Regions from separate parts of the Homo sapiens genome. Here regions 2, 3 and 4 are each linked to region 1. The links are contacts of gene promoters, found by promoter capture Hi-C in human tissues and cell types (Jung and others, 2019). All regions are on one chromosome and are shown on one strand. The core of a region is centred on a gene start or on the middle of the fragment in contact, and the rest is flanking DNA. Distances in the headings are between cores, read along the strand shown. Region 1 holds the start of DNAJC28 (DnaJ heat shock protein family (Hsp40) member C28). Region 2 overlaps CFAP298-TCP10L (CFAP298-TCP10L readthrough). Region 3 has its middle 7.0 kb from the start of LINC01690. Region 4 overlaps SYNJ1 (synaptojanin 1).

The links. The method cuts DNA at HindIII sites, captures the fragments that hold promoters and counts their contacts. A contact is called where the count stands out against the background at its distance.
Region 2: a contact is called between a fragment that was not itself captured here and the fragment with the promoter of DNAJC28 in region 1, in 1 of the 25 tissues and cell types used here (dorsolateral prefrontal cortex).
Region 3: a contact is called between a fragment that was not itself captured here and the fragment with the promoter of DNAJC28 in region 1, in 2 of the 25 tissues and cell types used here (dorsolateral prefrontal cortex and spleen).
Region 4: a fragment that was not itself captured here is called in contact with the fragment with the promoter of DNAJC28 in region 1 in 1 of the 25 tissues and cell types used here (lymphoblastoid cells).

Annotation. Positions count from the first base shown.
Region 1 is chr21:33,489,224-33,496,173 of GRCh38, reverse strand. DNAJC28 (DnaJ heat shock protein family (Hsp40) member C28) reads left to right here and starts at 4,458. Exons shown (of 2, transcript NM_001040192.3): 1 at 4,458-4,572; 2 at 6,750-6,950. The coding sequence starts at 6,781. The HindIII fragment of the contact is 10,582 bases long and covers 1-6,950 here.
Region 2 is chr21:32,602,566-32,607,851 of GRCh38, reverse strand. CFAP298-TCP10L (CFAP298-TCP10L readthrough) reads left to right here. Exons shown (of 12, transcript NR_146639.2): 3 at 136-203; 4 at 3,569-3,727; 5 at 4,560-4,691. It overlaps CFAP298 (cilia and flagella associated protein 298), which reads left to right. Exons shown (of 7, transcript NM_021254.4): 3 at 136-203; 4 at 3,569-3,727; 5 at 4,560-4,691. Among named protein-coding and RNA genes, the nearest start is that of CFAP298, 7.2 kb to the left of the region's middle. RefSeq lists a silencer at 3,079-3,373. The HindIII fragment of the contact is 4,387 bases long and covers 1-3,443 here.
Region 3 is chr21:32,948,732-32,955,049 of GRCh38, reverse strand. No RefSeq gene overlaps it. Among named protein-coding and RNA genes, the nearest start is that of LINC01690, 7.0 kb to the left of the region's middle. The HindIII fragment of the contact is 5,013 bases long and covers 25-5,037 here.
Region 4 is chr21:32,626,495-32,633,076 of GRCh38, reverse strand. SYNJ1 (synaptojanin 1) reads left to right here. Exons shown (of 33, transcript NM_203446.3): 33 at 1,276-4,314. Among named protein-coding and RNA genes, the nearest start is that of CFAP298-TCP10L, 17 kb to the right of the region's middle. The HindIII fragment of the contact is 9,547 bases long and covers 1-6,582 here.

The sequences.
Region 1 (6,950 bases), core at 3,209-5,708:
GGGCAGGGGTGTGTTCAGCAAGAGGAAAATGAGGGGGAAAGCTTCCACCTGCTTTCAGAGTTTTCCATCTGGGAGGAAACATTTTGGGTAACACAAATCCCTGGGACCTACTGAAGGGATGTATAAGGATCAAAGACACCTGCTGTGTTGGTCTGGTGGGGCTGATGTGACAAAGCACCACAGACTGGGTCTTCAACTACGGGAGACCATTATTCTCCCACAGTCGTGGAGACTGGAAGTCCAAGGTCAAGGTGTCTGCAGAGTGGGTTTCTCCTGAGGCCTCTCCTTGGCCGGCAGATGGCTGCCTTCTTTCTGTGTCCTCACAGGGACGTTGCTCAGTGTGTGCACAACCCTGATGTCTCTCTGGGGCCAAATTTCCTCCTTTTATAAGGATGTCAGTCAGATTGGATTATCACCCACTTTAACAGCCTCATTTTAACTTAATCACCTCTTTAAATAACTTATCTCCAAATGCAGTCACATTCTAAAGTACTGGGGGTTAGGGCTTCAACATGGGGGGCACAATTTAGCCCAAAGAGTGGAGAAGTGACCAGGTCATCTGGAGGGAGACAACTGTACATAGCGTCTCCTTATTGTAATTACTGGCCGGGCGCGGTGGCTTACACCTATAAGGGGTACATAGGTGCACTTATGTCATGGGGGGTTGGTGTACAGATTACTTCATCATGCAGGTATTTAGCCCAGTACCCAATAGCTCTCTGTTTTCCTCCGCTCCCTCCTCCCACCCTCCCACCTCAAGCAGACCCCAGTGTCTGTTGTTTCCTTGTGTTCCTAAGTTCTCATCATGTAGCTCCCATTTATAAGTGAGAACATGCAGTGTTTGGTTTTCTGTTTCTGCGTTAGTTTGCTGAGAATAATGGCCTCCAGCTCCATCCATGTTCCCGCAAAAGACATGATCTCATTCTCTTTTATGACTGCACTGTTTCTTTCTTTCGTTTTTCTTTCTTTTTTTTAAGAGACAGGGTCTCACCTATCACCCAGGCGGGAATAACAGTGGCACGATTATAGCTCACTGAAGCCTCAAACTCCTGGGCTCAAGCGATCCTCCTACCTCCTGAGTAGCTGAGACCACAGGTATGTGCCACGGCACTGGTCTATAGCATGGAATCTTTCATAATTTATTTCTCTCTCTGTAATTTGACTTTATTCTTCCTATTATGAACAGTGGTTCAAAATGAAAATCTTGGGACACTCCCCCGTCTACCCGAAGATTTTCAGAGGTAATCAAGATTCCAAAGTTTGTGTGGGCTAGGTGCAGTGGCTCACACCTGTAATCCCAGCACTTTGGGAGCCCTAGGTGGATCATTTGAGGTCAGGGGTTCGAGACCAGCCTGACCAACAAGGCAGAACCCTGTCTCTACTAAAAATACAAAATTAGCTGGGTGTGGTGGTGCGCGCCTGTAATCCCAGCTACTCGCGAGGCTGGGGCAGGAGAATTGCTTGAACCTGGGAGGTGGAGGTTGCAGTGAGCTGAGATCGTGCCACTGCATTCCAGCCTGGGCGACAGAGCAAGACTCCGTCTCAAAAAAAAAAAAAAAAAGTTTGTGTGAATCATTCTTAGGCTGAATATAACCTTTAAAACATTTTTTAAATTAATTAATGTATCGTTTGGTTGCAATCTCTGAGGATGAGTATGGCCTTTTTTTTTTTTTTTTTTTTGAGACGGAGTCTTGCACTGTTGCCCAGGCTGGATTGCAGTGGCGCGATCTCGGCTCACTGCAAGCTCTGCTTCTGGGTTCATGCCATTCTCCTGCCTCAGCCTCCAGAGTACCTGGGACTACAGTTGCCCGGTGCCATGCCTGGCTAATTTTTTGTGCTTTTAGTAGAGACAGGGTTTCACTGTGTTAGCCAGGATGGTCTCGATCTCCTGACCTCGTGATCTGCCCACCTCGGCCTCCCAAAGTGCTGGGATTACAGGCGTGAGCCACCGTGCCCAGCCAGAGTATGGCCTTTTATATGGTCAATTTATTGAGAACATTCTGTCATTTCTATCTTGTTTTATGTATTTTTATAATTTTAATGGATTGAAGGGGAAAATTCTTATTTTTTTACTAATGAAATTTTCCCCTGTACCTAGAGAAGGGACTTGCTTTGTGGGCTGAATACACTGATAAACCACTGGTATTGGGAAGGAGGATGGACAGTCCCCGCCCCTTCCCCAGCCTTCGCTGGGCACTCAGTTGAAGATTTCAAAAGGTCCTTGAGCAGCTGGGGAAGCAAGGCTAACTTCAACATTTCTGTTTTCTGCGTGAAGTGTTGACACTTGGAGTGTATTTTAATTTTACTTTTTTTTTAAATAAATAGAGATGGGGTCTCCCTATGTTGCCCAGGTTGGTTCAAATCCCTAGGCTCAAGTGATCCTCCCACCTGGGCCTCCCAGAGGGCTGGGATTACAGGCATGAGCCACTGTGCCTGGCCTTGGAGTGCATTTAGAAGCAAGGCTGGGAGAAGGATGAGATTGAGAGATATAAGGCACCTTACTGGGCCTGGAAGCAGAAGAGGGGGATGGCTACTGGCAACTTTTAGGAAGTTTTGCTTGGTGGCTTTTTTTTTTTTTGAGACAGTGTCTCGCACTGTCACCTGGGCTGGAGTGCAGTGGCGCAATCTCAGCTCACTGCAACCTCCACCTCCAGGGTTCAAACGATTCTCCTGCCTCAGCCTCCCGAGTAGCTGGGATTACAGGCATGCGCCACCACGCCCATCTAATTTTTTGTATTTTTAGAGAGATGGGGGTTTTCCGTGTTGGTCAGGCTGGTCTCAAACTCCCGACCTCAGGTTATCCACCTGCCTCAGCCTCCCAAAGTGCTGAGATTACAGGCGTGAGCACTGCGTCTGGCCTTATTTTTCTTTTTAAAAATTTTTTAGTGGCCAGGTCTTTTTTTTTTTAGACGGAGTCTGGCTCTGTCGCCCAGGCTGGAGTGCAGTGGCACGATCTAGGCTCACTGCAAGCTCCGCCTCCCGGGTTCACGCCATTCTCCTGCCTCAGACTCCCGAGCAGGTGGGACTACAGGCGCCCGCCACCACACCTGGCTAATTTTTTGTATTTTTAGTAGAGACGGGGTTTCACCGTGTTAGCCAGGATGGTCTCGATCTCCTGACCTCGTGATCCGCCCGCCTCGGCCTCCCAAAGTGCTGGGATTACAGGCGTGAGCACCGCGCCCGGCCAGAAATCCTATTTTCTTTCACATGAGTTATTTTGTTGATTGTTTGCTTATAACTAAAGCCCTCAGAATCAGAGTTTATACTGTATCTTTTTCTGTGTTCCTACATAGATGGCAATAAATGATTCTAATGTTTATGATGTAGAAGCTGAGGAGGCTAATACCTATTTCTGGCTCCTTTTAGGAGACACAGTCATAACAAAAAATATTGCTTAATGTGCGAGGCACAGTGCCAAGTGGTTTACATACATTGTGTAATTCTCCCCCTAAAAAAGTCAATGAAGTTGATACAATTATTATTTCATTATATGTAAAATAGGGAAAATAACAGCATTTATCTCAGAGGGCTGTTGTAAAGATTAAATGAATGCCTGTAATCCCAGCACTTTGAAAGGCCGAGGCAGGCAGATCACCTTAGCTCAGGGGTTCGAGACCAGCCTGGCCAACATGGTGAAACCTGGTCTCCACTAAAAATACAAAAAAATTAGCTGGGCATGGTGGTGCGCGCCTGTAATTCCAGCTACTCGGGAGGCTGAGGCAGGAGAATAGCTTAAACCCGGGAGGTGGAGGTTGCAGCGAGCCGAGATCGCGCCACCACACTCCAGCCTGGGCGACAGAGCGAGACTCTGTCTCAAAAAAAAAAAAAAAAAAGTAAATGAGAATATACATAAAGCACTTAGCACAATGGCATACTATTTACTATAGTTTACTATTTATTGCAACTCTCATTTTGCAGGTATCTTGCCTAAGGTGCAAGCAGAAGAAACAGGATTTTCAACCCAGATCTGAAAACTCCCAAGCCTCTGCCTTTTTCTTTTTATCCTTTTTCTTTTTCCTTGTTAAAAAACTTGCTTCCTGTACAGAGAGGGGAAATGCTCAGTCCCCACGTCAGTGGTTGAACTCCAAGCCAGAAGATCCCTATTTTGATTTTGTCCTCTGGCCTGTCGCCAGCCCCTCAACAGTACTTGAATTAATAAAAGGGCAGGTTTTAAGCCTCATGTATCTGCGCAGGTGACTCCTTCTGTGACCCCGAATAAACCTGTTCCGGTCCCGTTCCGGGGAAACAGCCTTGCCTTCCCCTGCCCCCAGAAAGTTACCCTCGCCCTCCGAGCCACAACTCCCCACGCCGCCAACTCGGTCTTTACATCATTTTCGACGCCCCCTAAGTCCCTCCCGAGAGGCGCAGGCGCACATCGCCCCTTCTAGCGAACTACATCTCCCACAATCCCAATCGGCCGGACCACCTCCGCTCGGGGCGGGGACGGAGGTGGAGCTGGTGGTCCCCGGTCGGGACGAAGGCTCCCGAGGTGCCCTGCCTGGGTCCTCCGGGGTAAAGTTCGTTTGGCGGAAGATTGTCCGTTTTCCTGGTAAGGTCACCTGTCCCAATCAGGTACGATTCTGCCTTCCGTACCCCCGAGCCCCTCAGTGTAAAGTGGCAAATGGTCTAGCCCGGCGGAGGCACCAGCTGGAGGCGGTGGGAGGGACACCCGCAGTGAAGGGCGGACCGCGCACGCATGCGCAGAGGCGCGGCAGGGGGGCGGGAGCCGCGGAACCCCTACCCCAGGTCTGCGCAGGTGAGGAGGGGGCGGGGCAGGACCGACCTCCCTTGCCATGATAACCACCTTCGCAGCCGGCTCCCAGACCGTTGGCACCGATTGCCTAGAAAATAGGGGGTCTCAGGAGCTCCGTTTTAGCGTTTATATATCCCAATTCCAATTAAGCCACTTCCAGTATTTTTTGGCCATTGTCAGTGTACAAGTCTTCCTCCTCTTCGAGACCATGTTATTGCAATAGCAGCAAACGTGTTGGGAGGCCTCACAATTCATCATGGTTTTTCTGGCCTCTGGCAGATAGCTCCTTCCTAGCGAGCTGTGGAGCTTAAAGTCTTTTGGACACTTGATTCTATTCAATCCAGTATCAGACCAGGTACGTACCTTGTCCATAAGTCGTCTTATGAGAAGACTTCTTGAGATGATGCAGACTCTCGTGCAGTTTATAATCGGCTGGAGGTATAGACAGTTAAGCAAGCCTCCTTTTTTACTGTGCCCACCCCTAACCATTTTGCTTACACCTTGTTATGGGACTTGGTTAAATTGCTTAACCTTCCGGACCTACGTTTTCTCATTAAATGAGAAGATTGGATTAGATGATCTCTAAGAACTTTCCACTTGTAAAATATACGGTTAGTTAGTGAGGGGTAGAATCCAGATTCTATCTATCTATATTTTTTTGAGACAGAGTCTCACTCTGTTGCCCAGGCTGGAGTGCAGTGGCACGATCTCGGTTCACTGCAACCTCCACCTCCCGGGTTCAAGCGATTCTCTTGCCTCAGCCTCCCGAGTAGCTGGGACTGCAACCTCCAGTTAATTTTTGTATTTTTAGTAGAGACAGGGTTTTGCCATGTTAGCCAGGCTGATCTCGAACTCCTGACCTCAGGTGATCCACCCACCTCGGCCTCCTAAAGTACTGGGATTACAGGCGTGTGCCACCGTGCCTGGCCCCACAATATGTTAACACTAAACTTCATCAGCTTCCACTTTTCTGCCCACATCAGTGAAATATAGCTATAAGAATGCAGCTGGTGGGGCTGGGTGCGGTGGCTCACGCCTGTAATCCCAGCACTTTGGGAGGTCGAGGCGGGCAGATCACAGGGTCAGGAGATCGAGACCATCCTGGCTAACACGGTGAAACGCCGTCTCTACTAAAAATACAAAAATTAGCCAGGAGTGGTGTCGTGCACCTGTAATCCCAGCTACTTGGGAGGCTGAGGCAGGAGAATCGCTTGAACCCGGGAGGCAGAGGTTGCAGTGAGCCGAGATCATGCCATTGCACTCCAGCCTGGGTGAGACTCTGTCTCAAAAAAAAAAAAAAGAAAAGAAAAGAAAAGAAAAAAGAATGTGGCTGGGCACAGTGGCTCACCCCTATAATCCCAGCACTTTGGGAGGCAGAAACTGGCAGATCGTTTGAGCTCAGGAGTTGGAGACCAGGGTGGGCAACATGACGAAACCCCATCCCTACAAAAATACAGAAATTAGCCAGGTGTGGTGGTGCACGCCTGTAGTCCTAGCAACATGAGAGGCAGAGGTGGGAGGATCACTTCAGCCCAGGAGGTTGATGCTGCAGTGAGCCACGATTGTGCCACTGCACTCCAGCATGGGCAACAGAGCAAGACCCTGTCTCAGACAAAAAAAAAAAAAAAAAAGGCTGAGCGCAGTGGCTCATACCTGTAATCCCAGCACTTTGGGAGGCCGAGGCGGGCAGATAACCATGTCAGGATATCCAGACCAGCCTGGGCGATATGGTGAAACCCCTTCTCTACTAAAAATACAAAAAAATTAGCTAGGCGTGGCTCTGGAGGTGGAGGCACCACTGCACTCCAGCCTGGGTGACAGAGCGAGACTCTGTCTCAAAAAAAAAAAAAAAAGGAAAAAGTTGACAGCAGCATTCAAAAGAACTGCCCCTTGTTGTACTTATAAATTCATGCTGTATCTTTTACCTTATTGCTGAAAATAAGAAATTAACTGATAATACAACTTTGTTCAACCTATATTTGTTGTCGTTTTATAGGTCATTGCTAGGAAGAACTCTGGGTACAATAATGAATACAATGTATGTGATGATGGCTCAGATCTTAAGATCTCACCTGATAAAGGCTACAGTGATTCCTAATCGAGTGAAAATGCTTCCATATTTTGGTATCATTAGAAATAGAATGATGTCAACCCATAAATCCAAAAAGAAGATCAGAGAATATTATAGACTGCTGAA
Region 2 (5,286 bases), core at 1-2,500, 890 kb after region 1:
CTCTTCCCTAAATTCCACACTCGCACTCTCTCTCAGTTCATTTACCCCCTGACTCAGACAGAGGGGATTGAGGTATTTCAGAAGAGGCTTTGTATTTGACAGCTCTTTCTCCCTCTCTCCTTTTTATTTTTATAGCTCCAAATGAGAAGATGAAGCAAGTGTTAAAGAAGACTATAGAAGAAGCCAAAGCAATAATATCTAAGGTTGGCTTTTTTAAATGATGCACTAAAACTTGTTGGGTTTTTTTTTTTTTTTTTGGAGATGGAATTTTGCTTTTGTTGCCCAGGCTGGAGTGCAATGGTGCGATCTCGGCTCACCACAACCTCCACCTCCTGGGTTCAAGCAATTCTCCTGCCTCAGCCTCCCGAGTAGCTGGGATTACAGGCATGCACCACCATGCCGAGCTAATTTTGTATTTTTAGTAGAGACGGGGTTTCTCCATGTTGGTCAGGCTGGTCTCGAACTCCTGACCTCAGGTGATCCGCCTGTCTTGGCCTCCCAAAGTGCTGGGATTACAGGCATGAGCCACCGCGCCCGGCCTAAAACTTGTCTTTTGAGATAAAACTCCAACTCTGGCTTCCAGAGTTGCCTCTCAGCCAGCCTTCTCTTTCAGCCTTCCGGAGGCAAAGGAAACAAGCGTATTTGGGGTAGGCTGTAGCTTTTCCTTTCATAATCCTGACGGTTGCCCAGAGGCCTCTCCGTTCCTCCAGGCAGACACAAATTTTTGTTGGCTTATGTAAATATAGGTTCACGTATAATACAAATATGTATAATACAAATGTTGATTTCATTTCTTTTACCTTTTTGAAGAACTTAACAAAGTTAAGTAGGGGAGATTTGAATATTGTGGCCATCGAGTAGCTCTCCAGACACTTGATTGACTTAATATGTATTTGATATAAATGGTTTTTTGTAATTGTCTTCAGCATTTTATACAAAGGCTAGTTTATAGAGGGAGGAGCGTAAATTTATACCATTGATATACAGATAATGTGTATCTGGAGGAAGAGAATTTAAGGCTATTGAAAGAAGTGGTATCTGTATCTGTTGCTTGTATTTGTGTGTTGGTGATATTAGTTGCTACCGCTCTCAACTGCAAGTCTCTTGACTGATCACCACTTTTTCTTCTGCTTCTCCTGGTTTGCTCAGCAGAACTGTTATTTTTAAACCAATATTTCTCAAACTTACCAAGCTTTTGACTAATCTTTGAAGAGCCTCAGCAAAGGCTGCCCTGAAGCTCTGTGCCTGTTAATATAGGAAAGGCTTTATGAAGCTCTACAGGAGAGGCCCTGGTTGAGCCCGTCGTTTGCGTGGTGATGGCATCTAGGCATGTGAGCACGTCTCAGGCCATGGCAAGAAAACAGTGGTCTGGCTGTTGTTCTGCACCCTTCTCCCCACACTTTGCTGTGGAACTCCTCTCTCGGTCGCCTCACTTCTCCCCTTTGCCTGTGTACTTCTGAAAGTACTTTTTATCCTTGGTCTTCTTCCTCTCTCAGTATCTTATCTACTCTGCCAAATGCAAATTCCACCCTCTGCAGATAACTCTGAAGCTTCCATCCTTTCCCCCTGACATCTTGCTTCACTTCCAACCTGAATTTCCAGCTGGTTGTGAGATGGTTCTATCTGAACACCCAGTCAGCACTTTGAAGTCCAGTTTTCTAGAAATGAGCTCTTTGCTTCCTCACTCCTCTCCCTCTCTGTTCTGTCCCTGAGAATCAGCACCTCCTATGAGCTTCTCTGTTTCCAGTAACAGAACCACAGTGTCTTGGTTTTATAGGGCAAATCCTCAGTGTCATCTTCAACACTTCTCCCTTCTGTCACCTCTAGGTTTGAAGTGGGGTTCTGTACCGTCTGCTCCCATGATGCCTCTTAAGTCCACCTCTTCCTTTCACTTCCACAGCTGTGGCTTTCTTTAAGGCTCTCCTGTAGCCTTTTGCATTCTGATGCCCACTGGGGGTCCTGCCAGTCAATTCAATTCCGTTCTGACACTAACTACTCAGAGACAGCACAGACCCCACAGGTCAAGGGCAGATCCTTCAATTCTGACACTAACTGCCTGGAGTTAGCATCAGACCTAAAAGTTAAAGGGTGAGATCACCAACAAGACTCCTCTTATTTCAGACACCAGCTGCACGTGAGGTCCCCAGGCCACCCATACTTGTGTCCAGCTTGACTACAAATTTGGAGCTTCCCACAACGCCCCCACTGATGTGTGTCACCCGGCACATCAACGTCTTCACCAATCAGGAAGCTTCACTGAGCCATGATGTCTGGGATTTTTATAGCGTTTTTGTTCAGTAGGCATGATGGCTTAAACCACTGGCCACGTGTTTGATCCCAACCTCTAGCGCCTGGAGGTGGAGGAAGGGAGTGAGGCCGAAAGCTCCAACCCTCTAATTATGTGCTTGGTCTCCCAGGCACGGCCAGCCCCTTCCTTGAAACCCAGCGCGGACTACAGGTTACTGTATTAGCACAAGCTCAGGTATGGTGAGAAGGGGCTCGTTATAAATAACAAGACACTCCTGTCACTCAGGAAATTCCAAGAGTTTTGGAGCTCTGTGCCTGGAACTGAGTAGCAAAGACCAGATATATTTGTTATTTCATCACACCTTCCTCTGTACTCTTCAGAGCCTGCTACCTGGTCTCCCTCCAACTAGGTCTGTTCTTTTTTTTGAGGCAGAGTCTTATTCTGTTGCCCAAGCTGGAGTGCAGTGGCACGATTTTGGCTTACTCCAACCTCTGCCTCCCAGGCTCAAGCAATTGTCCTGCCTCAGCCTGCTGAGTAGCTGGGACTACAGGCACCTGCCACCACGCCCAGCTAATTTTTGTATTTTTAGTAGAGACAGGGCTTTGCCATGTTGGCCAGGCTGGTCTCGAACTGCTGACCTCAGGTGATTTGCCCACCTCGGCCTCCCAAAGTGCTGGGATTACATAAGGTGTGAGCCACCACATCTGGCCAACTAGGTCTGTTCTATATCAGCTACAAGATAAATCTCTCAACATTACCACTCCTTCCCAGAAAAGGCAGTCGCTTCCCGTGGCCTAACAGAGGAAAGGTGAACTCTTCAGCCTGGCTTTTGTGGCCATTCAAAAACAAACTTCAGCTGATCCAGCTAGAGCTGGCCTCATCTTCTCTCCTTCCTGCCCCATGCTGAGGGGGCTGGCGCCTGCTTTTCTTTGTTTCAGCTTGTCCTGAAGCACCTGCTGCCATCTGTACCTTTTCAGCCCATCTGCATTTCGAGGCCCACCTGCGGTGCCTGCTCCCCCTGCCGTATCTCCCGATCCTCACTGCCATCTGTGCTGCCAGCATTGGGCTCTTTCTCCTTTGAGAATTCTTTGCACTTCATTGTACTCCATGCTCAGTGCTGCTCACCGTCTGCTTTATAATACAGGCCACGGTGTGCTTCGCTCAGCCCCTGAAATAGATGGTAGTCACTCTGGGAGCAAGAACTGTTTGATTTCTTTTTGTTGCTCTGGCAGTATCTGGCAAGGGTCTTGTACAAGATCTTGATCGAATTTATGGAAGTGATTAGCCACACTGTAGATAACGATGGCTTTCTGCTTGCAGAAACAAGTGGAAGCCGGTGTCTGTGTTACCATGGAGATGGTGAAAGATGCCTTGGACCAGCTTCGAGGCGCGGTGATGATTGTTTACCCCATGGGGTTGCCACCGTATGATCCCATCCGCATGGAGTTTGAAAATAAGGAAGACTTGTCGGGAACACAGGTACGTAGTTTGTGAGTGGGTACTCTGGAGGTTGAGTTCCTGGCCCCCAAAGCCCTTAAGATTTGATGCCCCTCTTCTGGATGTAGTGTTTTGCTCCCTACACAGCTTTCAGGTTTGCTATGCCCTGCTTCAGAGCAGAGTTCTGAATTCAGGAGCAGCCCCTGAGAGTGGGTACTCATGAGTGAGGGGTTTGGCCCCACACACAGGAGGCAGTGGACGCAGTTTGTGAGGCCGCTCATCAGGAGTGACTGCAAACATTTCCACTGTCTTTGGCTGCTAGGAAGCCAGCTACCTAATTTCTTCCTATTTCTACCCAAATGCGTCAGTCCCTTTGCATGGAAATTTGTGTTTCTAGTCTTACCTGTTGCTTCATGTTATTTTCTGACCCTCATGTTCCATTTTCCTTGGGTTTTCTCACTTCTTATCCTATTGGACAATATTCTTTGTCTAAGCCATGTTAAATAAATGAAATATGCAGAAGTAAACAGGCAGCCCCTTTATACCTCGATTTAAACACCCAGCACGATGCCAGTGCCCTTCCCTGGCAGTGGCCTACAGATCTGTCTAAGACGAACTATATGGATCAAGGTGCAAATGAGATAGGATCTCCCTGTTGTCCAGAGGAGGAAGTTAACTGAGTCAGGGCATGAGTGGAAACTTAACAGGGAAGGTACTAAAGTCAGCAAGGACTTAGAGTGAGGTGCGGGAGTCAGGCCTCCCATGGTGAGCACGGGGAGAAATCTGTCCCCTGCCCCCTGCTGGGAGGGGCTCAGCTGGGCTCTGCCCCCTGGGTGGGAACACACAGTCAAGCCATTCTTACGACTGGCCCCAGGCAGGGCTCAACGTCATTAAAGAGGCAGAGGCGCAGCTGTGGTGGGCAGCCAAGGAGCTGAGAAGAACGAAGAAGCTTTCAGACTACGTGGGGAAGAATGAAAAAACCAAAATTATCGCCAAGATTCAGCAAGTAAGTACTTTTTGCTTTAATGTGTCAGTAGTTTTTGTTATTTCCCTTCAAACTGATAAAAATGTACAGTGAATCCGAAAGATTTAAACTACTGGTACAAATATTTTAATCTTATTGGCTCGGGTTTAAACTAAAAATATCCTCTTCCTGCACACCAACAAAAACTGGAAGAAAATATGGATTGAGTACCAATATCTAGAGTTTGTTTTAATATGTGGGGGAGAGGAAATATACTATGTTAATTTCAAGCGTAAAAATAGGGCTGCAAGTAAACAGATATGTTCCTTGAAATGTAAAATTTCGCCCGTCACTGATTTCAGGCTTTTTCAAACTGCTGATGCTGTGTACAGGAGGGGGAGGAGGAAAGGTTCGAGACCTTTGAAGGACATCGTGTAGCGCTGTAACCTGAGGGGCCGCCTTGGTTTTGTGGGTGCTCCTACGTCACTAGGCTGTGATTTTGGGGAAATGGGGCCCTCCACCTTATGTAGATCCAGAGTCCGTGGCTCTGAGCATCCTCCCTTTCCCACTGGACCTGCCTGCAGTGTCTGCCTTGGGAATGGTCAAGACAGAGATGGTATCGTGCAGCCTCTGGTCT
Region 3 (6,318 bases), core at 1,282-3,781, 540 kb after region 1:
GGAGGATTCCATATTTCCAACTTCAGCTCTTAAAATACAAGAAAATAAAAGTGGGACGCCTTCAAGCCATTAATGATGCCTTCCTTTTGCATTTCATTTTATTTTATTCATCTGGACTTATATAAAGGATCCAAGCTAAGAAGGGAGGACTCTCTCAAACAAACTTGAATTGGGACAGTCGACAAAAGTTAAAATGCTTTTAGATGCTTTTGACGTGAGCACCCAAATTAGAGAGAAAAAAAAAGGGAGGGGGGTGTTCATTTATAACGCATAAACTCAGCACCCTTTAAGACTAAAACTATAGTTAGTTAAAAATGCTAGTTGACACGGTTGAGTTTTCAATCCGCAGTTGCAAAAGGTGTATGTGTTTGATAACATTTGTTTTGTGGCTTAATAGGAAGTCAGAACAGAGAAAATTTAAGATTTAGGCTTACGTGCTTCCTACAACGGTTTCCAGAGAAAGATTTTTTTTTCTAGCCAATTTTGATTGAAAATCGAGATTTGCATCACAATGGAGATAGCTCAAAAGTGTAAATACAAAAGGCTGCAACTTCAGAGACTTCTTGGTCAGATGTGTTGTTTTCTGGTATATCATCTCATAAGGGCTTTGGGAAGGGGCTTCTCTCAGATTCAGGCCAGAGGGGGCTATGTTCCCCGTTCATTGCGAAAGGTCACACAGCCAACTCCTTCTGTCAACTCATATAGAACTATTTAATGCGGGGGAAGGGAGTTAGCAATGCTTCTGCTTTTGAGGAAACTGTTTACATAATTTAATTCACAGATATTTATGGTGGGCTGAAAGGGAGCATATTAGACTATCCAATTAATTCACATCAAAAATAAGCCTTTCAGAGATTAACAAAATCAGACAAAATCTACATCCTTGTGTTGTTGCAAATTATAAACATTTTGATATTCCCTCACATAATTGTGGTCCAAAAATTAGACAAATTCCTTTATTGGAGTCCACATTTGCATATCACCATACCAATGAGCAGTAGTAGTATCAATGTTTTTCCTCTTTCAATTGAAACGAATTTGTTTGAATTTTTATTTGTAATGTGATCAATATTTCAGTGATTTAGCTGTCAGGTTCATGTTGTTCTCACAGAAATGTTAAAAGCTTAAAAGTTTCTTTTCCATAACTCGAAATGCAAGGTTATTCTAATTTTTTCCACATTCCTACAATCTTCTCATCCTGTGTGACGACTGTGGAACAGATCAAATTGAGAGCTGCAAAATGTCCTATATCCACTAACATGTTTCTTTTTTCTTTTTACACTCCAGGTTCTATTTTTCTCAGCCTATTCCGGGATCTGGACACATGAGAGAACAAAACATATGACATCAACTAAAACATCACTCGATTTTCACACCAGTTTTTATACAAGTTGATGTCTTTTGATAACCCTTTAGGATGAAAAGTGCTGACCTGTGTCCCGTCTTCGGACTTTATGTCAAAATGTAGTAGCTGGGTGCGTTGGCTCACCCTTGTAATCCCAGCACTTTGGGAGGCCAAGATGGTTGGATCATGAGGTCAGGAGTTCCAGACCAGCCTGGACAAGATAGTGAAACCCCATCTCTGCTAAAAATACAAAAATTAGCCGGGTGCAGTGGCGGGTGCCTGTAATCCCAGCTACCCGGGAGGCTGAGGCAGGAGAATTGCTTCAACCCAGGAGGCAGAGGTTGCAGTGAGCCGAGATTGCGCCACTGCACTCCAGCCTGGGCAACAGAACAAGACTCCAACTCCCCCCCAAAAAAAAAAAAAAAAAAAAAAGTTAGTTAAATGGAGCCATTTCCCTCCCTGGCTGTTTTATTAATATAATCCCTGGGTAACAGATAATTGTTGGTATATCTCTGCCTTAGGTTGTTACCATTCTTGTACAAGTTGGACTGAACCTAGCAAGGCTGCTATCTCTGCGTCCCAATTTAGTCATTTGTTGCCACACAGTTTCTGTGTTTTCTTTCCTCTCCTGTTCCTTGCAAGTGGCACAGTGAGGCATAAAATTTTTCCTTTAGCCTAGATAATCTGGCGTAATTTTCCTCAATGCTTTCCCTTTCCACAATGGGAGTCAGGTTTCCATTTGAAACAGTTTACTTCTACATAATAAGCCTTCTCTCTCTCTCTAACTCTCTTATTCTCTTTTTTTCAATCCCAGAAAATTTCATTGCAGTTTAGAATCTCAATAAACAGGCTGCTGTTGCCATAAACAATCAGGGGAAAAAAAGTGGTGTTGGCAGAAAATTTAGATCATAATTTGTCTGACGGGACAAAACAGGCATGCCCTCTGCTTTGTCTTTGTGTATATTTGGGGTTATTATCAGTGTTCTGGCTTCTAAAGCATCTTTCTGTGTTAAATACGGGGCTGGACCGTGGAAAATCAAAAAACAAACTGGCATTTGGAAGGGCAATAACTTTCCTCGAAGAAAGGAGACAGCTACCGTTGGCCTATTATTTCAAACTTACTTCTGGTTCTCCACATCTTCCAAGGTAACAAATGAAGATGGTCACCCACCTTCAGTCTCGCAGCAGCAAGAAAGCAACAGAAGCCTTCTCTCCAGGAATTAGTATAGGAAACCTGTTTGCTTTTAAAGTTCCGAGTCCTCCCATAGAGATGAAAGGGGAATTAAAGTGAGTTACCCCTGAGGAATCACCAAAGGAAAAACGGGTTGCTTTATCTGGGCTCTTCAGAACTCTTTAAGACTTGAAGATCTGGATTGAAATCCGTATAATACGTTCATTCACTAAGTCAAGATTAATAGCGTTGGTGTTGTGTCCTCCGGGGAGGGCCTCCAGAAGGCATTTGGAAATAAAGGTTGTCTTACTTTGAAATGCTTCCTCCACAGCACAGAAAAATTGATTTTTCCCCCAGTAAATATTCTTTTGGCATCTGATTTAAAGTCACTAAATGCTTTCCTCGCTAAAGATACCTTTCTCTGTCATCTCTTTCCGTCTCAAATATTGCCGGCTCTCACTGCTTTCTCCCTTCCCTGGCATAACTCTGGTTACAAATAGCCACTAGTGAGTGATATTTTGCTCTCACTTCTTAGCCATCCTATATTTCAAGGTTATCCCATTCTTTAACACTGCCCTTCAGGGTTTTGATAACAATCCTTGAAATCGCTGTATTTAGGACCAGAAATCCTCTAAGCTTGCTTTTCTTCTTAAACATGTTTTAAAATAAAAGTGGAGGGAAATCATTCTGAATTAAAATAGATTTCATATTAAGTTAGTAGCAAAAATGTGGTTTTATTTGCTTTCTGCTTTTTGCCCTGGAAAATGGGATACAGTAAAAATAAAACAGAACCCAAAGCACGATTAAATGAAGCAGGTGGCTCTCTGCAGGTAGTAAAGCAAAGAAGCAACTTGCTTTGGAAAGTTACATTCTGAAATGTACATGACTGTTGGGCAAGCTATGAAGCCTGCTGCATACTTTCAGAAGGACCCCTTCTGCAGGAACCTTCCAAATACAGTTTCAGAATTTTTTTTTCCTTTCACAATCTTTCATTCTTTCTTTGCATCTGGTTATGGTCCATTTTTAGTGGTTACTTTTTGCACGTTGGGAAGATTTTACTTTTCAAAGGCCTAAAACTGATGGCAATGCCTGTTGGCTCATTCTAAACCACCCAGACTGCGACCAGGGTTTCAGTCTGGGTTGTGCATGGGGCGATAAATCCTGGCGAAGCAGCCCTAATCCTCTACAAACCCCTGCTGCAAATTCTGTCCCTGCCATTGTGTTTTCTAACCAACTTGGGGGAATACCATATTGATCCTAAAAATGGGCAGCTTCTTAGCTTGCAAGTGGCTCCCTTTAAGAAGCACAGAGAACACGGCCTCAGGAAGCAGGGATTGCATCTCAGGGCAAAAGAAAGGGATGAGGTAAGACCCCGCAGAGGAATGCTGCCTGATGTGTGTGCTGGTTATTGTGAGTTGGTTCAGTGTTTCTGTCAGCTGTTTTACTGGTGTCTGATTAATCCCGCTGGTCACCAGGGGTAAGCCAGGGTTTCATCTGATCTAAGAACAAAACTTTTCCTCTTTTGGACAGAAGGTGGTCTGTCCAGGTCAGGGTATGGGTCACTGGAAGGGCAGCCTTCGGAAGCCTGCGTTTCACAGCAACCACTTGTTACAATTAGTTTAAAAAAAAAAAAAAAAAAAAGCCAACATGCGGTGAATTGACACTTTTGTGGGTCCCTGAGTCTGGACGGTGCAATTGTTCTGGAAAACAATGTCAGGATCTTCATTTGAAAGTGGAGAGGGTACAATGGTATTTCAAGTAGCAAAATCCCCACGCTCTGAGCCATGTGGGGATTTCATTTCCTTCAGTGTCTAGAACCCTATTCCCCTTCTCTGTACCAAATCCAAGTGTATTAAATGAAAATGCACAAATGAAGAAGGGTTAAGTTGAGCAAGACGGCATCTGTGCATGCTGTCCTAGCCTGCTCCTCAACCGGGCTGACAAATCATTTGCAGAATTGAAATTAGGAAAAGGTCCCTTGACTCTTGGGACAGAGTGCCCTTGGACTCTGGCAGAGTCTAGACAGTAACCCCCCTCTGCCCGCCCCACCCAATGTCAATTCTGTTCTGCTTCCTTTGCAGTAGAGGCCCCAGTTTATACCTGGGCACAGGTCCACGTGGAATAACAACACTGCATTTTGCAGTATTGCTTCCAGCTAAGTGTGTCCTTGAGACTAAGTCCTAGCCAAAGGCTGAAGGTAGAAGTGGTATACAACTTCCAGAAAGCATACTGTAAGGGAAGGGACATTCCCTTCTTTGCTCTCCTTTCTTCCTGCTGACTGGAATGCAGACGTGATGGCTGGACCTCTGGTGCTATAAGAAGCTGTGCTAAGGAGGTAGAGCAGCCCCTCAGGACCTATGGAGCAGAGCCATCCCACCAACCCTGGGCACATGAGACAGAAATAAACTTGGGTCATTTTCAAGCCACTTTTATTTGAGGCCTTGCTTTCAGACAGATGAACCTAATTCTAACAAAGGCAGATGCTAAAGAGATTCTCACTTAATCCTGCCTAGTCCGGATGAAAGTTCTAAAATATTTGTTTCTAGAGACTCCACTGGAAAAGCCAAGTGAGAAGATGTCACCAGTCCCACGTGACAAGCTGGCCTGGCCCTGCCCCAGAGGAGGGTGGTGACAAGGATCAGTAAGCTCTTGTGAGCAAAGCTGCGTCTGCAGGAAGCCAAACCACCCAGTCATGCTGTCCTTTCATGCTAATTGCTGTTTGATGCAAAGCCACTCAAACAAGTCTAGGGACATTTATCAGATAGACAAGGAAAACTAATTCTCCACTAATTTTTTTTTATTTTCAACTGATTTTTGTAGCTTTGTGTGGACTCTTCACCTGGTTAAACAGGCCCCAGAGATAGAGAAGGAGAAATATTTCAGCTGCATTGGGACAAAAATAAATAAATAATAACAAAGGCTAGAGGATCTCAAAACTAAATGCCAAATGGGGAATTATTTGAGCTTAAATAATTTTCTTTTGCAAAACGAAAATTTAGGAGTTTTGCTTTCAATTTTATGTTTTCTAATACAATTAAAGCAAGGCCTGGACTGGTGTAGAGAAATGTGTAGAAAACACTGAATAAATGGGAGCTTCAAGTCTCTGTAAGTCCTAGCTGTTAATGTCCAGCAGAGGTGGCAGGGAGCACACTGATGCCACCCCCTGTGAGGTCATCTAGATGTTACCCAAAAGGAGTTCTGATCCAGACCCCAAGAGAGGGTTCTTGGATCTCACGCAAGAAAGAATTCAGGGTGAATCCATAGAATAAAGTGAAAGCAAGTTTATTAAGAAAGTAAAGGAATAAAGAATGCCTCCTCCACAGACAGAGCAGCTCCAAGGGCTGCTGGTTGCCCATTTTTATGGTTATTTCTTGATGATATGATGAACAAGAGGTGGATTATTCATGCCTTCCCTTTTTAGACCATAAGGGTAACTTCCTAACATTTCCATGGCATTTGCAAACTGCCATGGCACTGGTGGGAGTGTAGCAGTGAGGACGACTAGAGGTCACTTTTGTCAGCTTCTTTATTACAACCTGTTTGGTTTGGGTCAGCTTCTTTATTACAACCTGTTTTATCAGCAAGGTATTTATGACCTGTATCTTATGCCAACCTCTTATCTCATCCTGTGACTTAGAATGCGTTAAACATCTAGGAATGCAGCCCAGTAGGTCTCAGCCTCATTTTACCCAGCTCCCATTCAAGATGGAGTTGCTCTGGTTCACATACCTCTGAAACAGACATTAACAAATGGTGTTGGGACGAAGGATATCCACATGCAAAAGAATGAAATTGGACCCCC
Region 4 (6,582 bases), core at 2,806-5,305, 860 kb after region 1:
GAGGGTCAATTTTTTTATGGAAAGTTGTCACATTACTCAGTTTTTGTTTTTTGTTTTTTGAGGCGGAGTTTTGCTCTTGCCCAAGCTGGAGTGCGGTGGTGCGATCTCAGCTCACTGCAACCTCTGCCTCCCAGGTTCAAGCAATTCTCCTTCCTCAGCCTCCTGAGTAGCTGGGATTATAGGCGCGCACCACCATGCCCAGCTAATTTTTTGTATTTTTAGTAGAGACAGGTTTCATTATGTTGGCCAGGCTGGTCTGGAACTCCTGACCTCAGGTGATCCACCTGCCTCAGCCTTACAAAGTGCAGGGATTATAGGCTTGAGCCACCGCGCCCAGCCTCACATTACTCAGTTTATTCAACAAAGGAGAGCTTACATTAAAAGTCAGCTGTGCCGGGCATGGTGGCTCACGCCTGTAATCCTGACACTTTGGGAGGCTAAGGTGGGCAGATTGCCTGCACTCAGGAGTTTGTGACCAGCCTGGGCAACATAGTGAAACCCCATCTGTACTAAAATACAAAAAATTAGCTAGACCTGGTGGCACACGCCTGTAGTCCCAGCTACTCAAGAGGCTGAGGCACAAGAATCACTTGAACCCGGGAGGTGGAGGTTGCAGTGAGCCAAAATCGTGCCATTGCACTCCAGCCTGGGTGACAGCACAAGACTTGGTCTCCAAAAAAAAAAAAAAGAGGGGGTGGGCAAAGAACTCTCAAAATTTATTTTTCCAAGTAGAAGACAGAAAGATGGAGTCTTCGTCTTAGGAATAAAATATGCTAATAGAATTAATTTTATCTATAAAATTGAATTTCCATAGTAACATTAATTTTAGAAAACACACTTAAAAGAACAATGAAACCACATCATCATCATAGATGGGTGTTAGAATTTTATTTATATAGATTTAGCATAAGTTATAAGTATGGATTTCTTAAGTTCATGCTGAAATGTGATAGAACTGGGCATGAACAAATTTGTTAATTCTGTACAATTCTCCTTCTTACCATTTCAAAACTTGCATGAATGAAATAAGCTCTTTGATTTTGAGGGATTTAAAAATGGATTTAATTAGAAAGGATTTATTTAGAAAGAAGTTTTTAAAGACTGTAGGTGTTTCATGTTATTTAAACCACCGGAGTAACAAACTACACAAAGCTACTTTTTAGTTTCTAAATTTACATGCTTGCCCCTAAAAGGGAAGAATAATTGAGACAGGAAGAATAGGGGGTATTAAGAGTAAATATAAACTGATTTTTCAGTGCTCCCTTTCTTTTGCAGGTAAAAACAAATGGAATCTCTGATGGCAAAAGAGAATCACCATTAAAGATTGACCCATTTGAAGATCTGTCATTTAATCTGCTTGCTGTATCAAAGGCTCAGCTATCTGTTCAAACGTCACCTGTTCCCACCCCAGACCCAAAGAGGTTGATTCAGTTGCCTTCTGCAACGCAAAGTAATGTTTTGAGTTCTGTAAGTTGCATGCCAACAATGCCTCCAATTCCAGCTCGGAGTCAATCCCAGGAAAATATGCGAAGTTCTCCAAACCCATTTATTACTGGCTTGACCAGGACAAATCCTTTCAGTGACAGGACTGCTGCTCCTGGAAACCCATTTAGAGCCAAGTCTGAAGAATCAGAGGCAACTTCATGGTTCTCCAAAGAAGAGCCCGTTACTATCAGTCCTTTCCCTTCTCTGCAGCCTCTTGGTCATAACAAAAGCAGGGCTTCATCTTCACTTGATGGCTTTAAGGACAGTTTTGATCTACAGGGCCAGTCTACATTAAAAATTAGCAACCCGAAAGGATGGGTAACCTTCGAGGAAGAAGAGGATTTTGGTGTGAAAGGGAAGTCAAAGTCAGCTTGTTCAGACTTACTGGGTAATCAGCCAAGTTCATTTTCTGGCTCCAACCTGACATTGAATGATGACTGGAATAAAGGTACAAATGTCTCCTTCTGTGTGTTGCCGTCAAGAAGACCTCCTCCACCTCCTGTCCCTCTGCTCCCGCCCGGCACCAGCCCTCCAGTAGATCCTTTCACGACCTTGGCCTCTAAGGCTTCACCCACACTGGACTTTACAGAAAGATAACGCCATGCAATAGAAAACAGTGGGTACTTGCTTTTGGCAGGATAGAGCTAAGAGAATTGGGCATTAGTATTTCATTATGTGCAATAAGTCATTGTAAGTGCACTGATATCTTCACAAAACACCACTATTTGATGTGTACAGAGTTGGACTATGTGTATATTGGAAATAAGGAAAAACCCTTCTCATTGTTAACTGGAGTTTTGATGTATTTCTCTTTGGATGAATAGGAGACAGTAGTAGCCATAAAAAGTACTTATACTTTAGAAAACAGTCCTTATTCAGAAACTTTTCGGTCAGTCTTCTGAAGAATCTCAAAAAGCCCACCCAACTTTCAGCTGACATTTCCACCAGCCCTCTCATACTTGTTAACAATTGGTATCTTTGAGTATTTACCAAAGAGCTGCCAAGGTTACAGTGAACAGAGTTTTGAAAGGCATTGCTTTAAAGGAAAAAAGTATAGGTATGTGTACATATATAATACATACAAACACATGTACTTCTGTATACATTTACATATTTTTACAATTCATACTTTAATTTCTAGGCTATAACTCAGACCAAATTATACCTAAAAGTTCCAACAAAGTCCCTTTTTCAATATCACATTACCAAAAAGATGGCTGCAAATGTAATTTGGACCTTTCATTAATTTTGTTTTCAAAACTAGAATAATCTCACCACAGAATCAGAATTTTCTACCGTTCCACACCCAACCCCTTCAAATACACACAACCTTGTTACTTTTCACTCCAGCACCTTCATACGCTTTTCTCCAGGAGGAGGTTCTTGCAGCTGGAAACAGCCTATTTTGTGGTCACTGTCAAGTGGATGGATATTCTAGCGCTCCCAAAAAAGCACTATGGCCTTATATGCAGGGAAGGCACATACCACCAAGTTCAATGAGAAATATTAGAGCTAACCGTACTCTCTTCTCTGCGTACGTTCGAGTATACGTTGCCCATATCCCTCCCATATTTTCTTTTTGCTGCTTTTGCTCTGGAACTTTGCTTTTAGCAGGGAAAGCAGCTGTCCCCTGAGTGCTTTGAATTGGGAATATACCCAGTGTGTGTTCTCCCCCCTCTTACGAGGCTACATAACACATCTATGATGCTGCTTTAAGTTTTTAGAGGCTATACCTCAAAGTAGCTGCGGATTTTGTCTCCTGCACTGCCAATATGCAACTGATCCCGCTTTTATTAATTTTTTGAAGAAGTACACAGAATTTTTACAGAATGTAGTATTTTGATATCATTAAGTAAACCAATCAGAAAACTCCTTGAGCAATAGTTGTTTCTTTGTCAGTTTCAGTTACAATCATCTTTACCCATTAAGACTTACATTAACATTCCTTTTATATAAAGAGTTGTATATGTCCACCTAAATTCCTATGTCCACACTTAACCTTTAAAGATGTACATTGAGGGAATATCAAAAAATAGCGTTCATGGCTACGAATATGTAGAATGTTAAAAGCACAGCAAACTGCACTGCACTTATAAAGCAAATCTATTAGAAAAAAAGCATTTTTCTAAATGCTCAAATGTTATCAAAATACTATATTTATAGAAGTAATCTTCTCTGTTAACAGCCAAGATTTGCTGTTAGAAATAACTCTTGTGAGTTTTATATTGTGCTTTTTGGAGGTTCTAATCATTTCAGCAGTAGCGTCTTAAACAGCAGTATTACTATAAGCAGTTGCTTCAAAATGTGAATTAACTTGTTGAAACTGTGGCTTTAACATCCATGTGACTAGTGTATATGGTATTTGCTCTCCATTAGCAAAATAATTCATTGTTAGGTAAACTTCACTAGTGCAAATTGCAGATCTGTGAGCAATGTTTCCTATTGAATATAAACTACTGTCTAAAATATACATATCAGCAGCCCAGCCTTTATCAGGAAAATTATACTTGGCAAGTTGCTGAAAATGCACAAAGTTATGAAAGTTAAAGGTATGCTGCAAATAACTAGCCATTATTCTATGTATTATTAAATATTTACTAGTTCTGTTAAAAGCAGAGCAGAAGTTAGACACTAAGGATCTCTTTGTGAACTCTGTGTTCTCTATATTAGATTGCTGTTTATATGTAAGAATTTTATTGCTTATGTGGCATACAATATTTATAACTATAAACTTTATAGAAGTACAGTATTAAAGTCAGTGGTACACAGACATTCTGTACATATCCTGTGAAACGTGCTGTCATATGAAATAAATATATCTGTCTTTACCATGCTGACTTCTTTGTTAGAAAGGGAAGAATTTTTCTCAGCCATTTTCCTTGTACTTTACATACACAAGTTTGGTGACGTTCAAACAAAATAAGCTTAACCCTTATTGCCGAATCAGATATTTTAATTCAAGACCTTATTTTCATTTCTCCAGATAGTGCTTCCTCTAAAACTAAGAAGATTTTCCGAGATTACTAATCATTATTAAAAAGTCCATGCCCAGCCTGGCCCACATGGTGAAACCCCATCTCTACTAAAAATATGAAAAAAAAATTAGTTGGGCGTGGTGGTGCAGGCCTGTAATCCCAGCTACTGGGGAGGCTGAGGCAGGAGAATCACTAGAACCTGGGAGGGAGAGGTTGCAGTGAGCCGAGATTGTGCCATTGCACTCCAGCCTGGGCGAGAAGAGCGAAACTCTGTTTCAAAAAAAAAAAAAAGTCCATGCACTTATTCCATAAGAGAGGCCCTCACGCAAAAACATGCTGACTTGAAAATAATACAAGAAATATGAATGATTTTTCTTACCCAAAGTAGAAGGAACAAGTGGGGGGCAAAGAGGAATTGGGACAAAAATAGCCAATCAGAAAAAGGGACTGCCTAAAGAGACCCAAATTAAAAGGCCAGGGCCGGGCGTGGTGGCTCACGCCTGTAATCCCAGCGCTTTGGGAGGCCGAGATGGGTGGATCATGAGGTCAGGAGTTCGAGACCAGCCTGACCAACATGGTGAAACCCTGTCTCTACTAAAAATACAAAAATTAGACGGGCGTGGTGGCAGGCGTCTGTAATCCCAACTACTCAGGAGGCTGAGGCAGGAGAATAGCTTGAATTTGGGAGGCAGAGGTTGCAGTGAGCCGAGATCACGCCATTGCACTTCATCCTGGGGGACAGAGCAAGACTGTCTCAAAAAAAAGAAAAAGAGGCCAAGGCTAGGCAAGGTGCAATGGCTCATGCCTATACTCCCAGCATTTTGGGAGGCTAAGGCAGGAGGATTGATTGAGCCCAGGAGTTCGACACTAGCCTGGACAACATAGACTTTATCTCTGGTAAAAATCAAAAAAATTAGCTGGGCATGGTGGTGCGTCCCTGTAGTCCCAGCTACTCAGAAGTTTGAGGTGGGGCATCACTTGAGCCCAGGAGATCGAGGCTGCAGTGAGTGAGCTATGATCACACAACCACACTCCAGCCTGGGCATCGGACCAAGACCCTATCTCACCAAAAAAAAAAAAAAAAAAAAAAAAGCCAAGGCTAGTATTGCCTTTTTTCAGACCTGTCTGATTGATATTTGAAATTCTTACTTTAATTCTTAATGTTCATTAACCTTTTATTAAGAAGTTACAGAATTATTGGCTTACAAAAACCATTTTAAGATACTTGTAGGTTAATATGGAGTTATAAGAAATAATACAGAGACCCCGTGTACCCCTTTACCCACTTGCCCCCATGGGTAACAGCTTGCAAAACTACAGTACCAGAGCATGACCGAGACATGAACAATACAGAGCATTTCCATCACCATAAGGAGCCCTCATGTTGCCCTTTTCCCACTGCCCTTTCATCCCATCTCCTTTTCCCCTGCCCTTAACCTCTGGCAACCACTAATCTGATCTCCGCATGTATAATTTTCTCACTTCAAGAATGTTACATAAATTGAATCATGGTATGTAACCTTTTGGGGTTGGCTTTTTTCACTCAGCATAATTCTCTGGAGATTCATCTAGTTTGCATGTACTCTGTTCCTTTTTATTGCTGAATAGTATTCCATGGTATGGATGTACCACCGTTTATTTAACCATTCATCCACTGAAGGACACTTGGGTTGTTTCCAGTTTGGTGGCTATTACAAATAAAGCTGCTATGAAGATAAGTTTTCATGTCTCTGGGATAAATGCCCAGGAGTGCAATTGCTTGGTTATGTGGTAATGGCATGCTTCAGTTTTTTAAAAACTGAAACTCTTCCGGAGTGCCTACCCTTTTACATTCCCATCAGCAATGCATGAGTAATCCAGCTTCTCCACATCCTTTTCCTCATTTGGTGGTGTCACTATTTTTTATTTTAGCCATTATAGTAGTGGATGTTTCATTGTAGTTTCAATTTGCATTTCCCTAACAGCTAATGATAAAAATCTTTTGTTTTTGTTTTGTTTTCTGAGACAGAGTCTTGCTCTGTCAACCAGGCTGGAGTACAGTGGCACAATCTTGGTTCACTGCAACCTCCGCCTCCAGGGTTCCGACGATTCTCCTGCCTCAGTCTCCCAAGTAGTGGAGCTT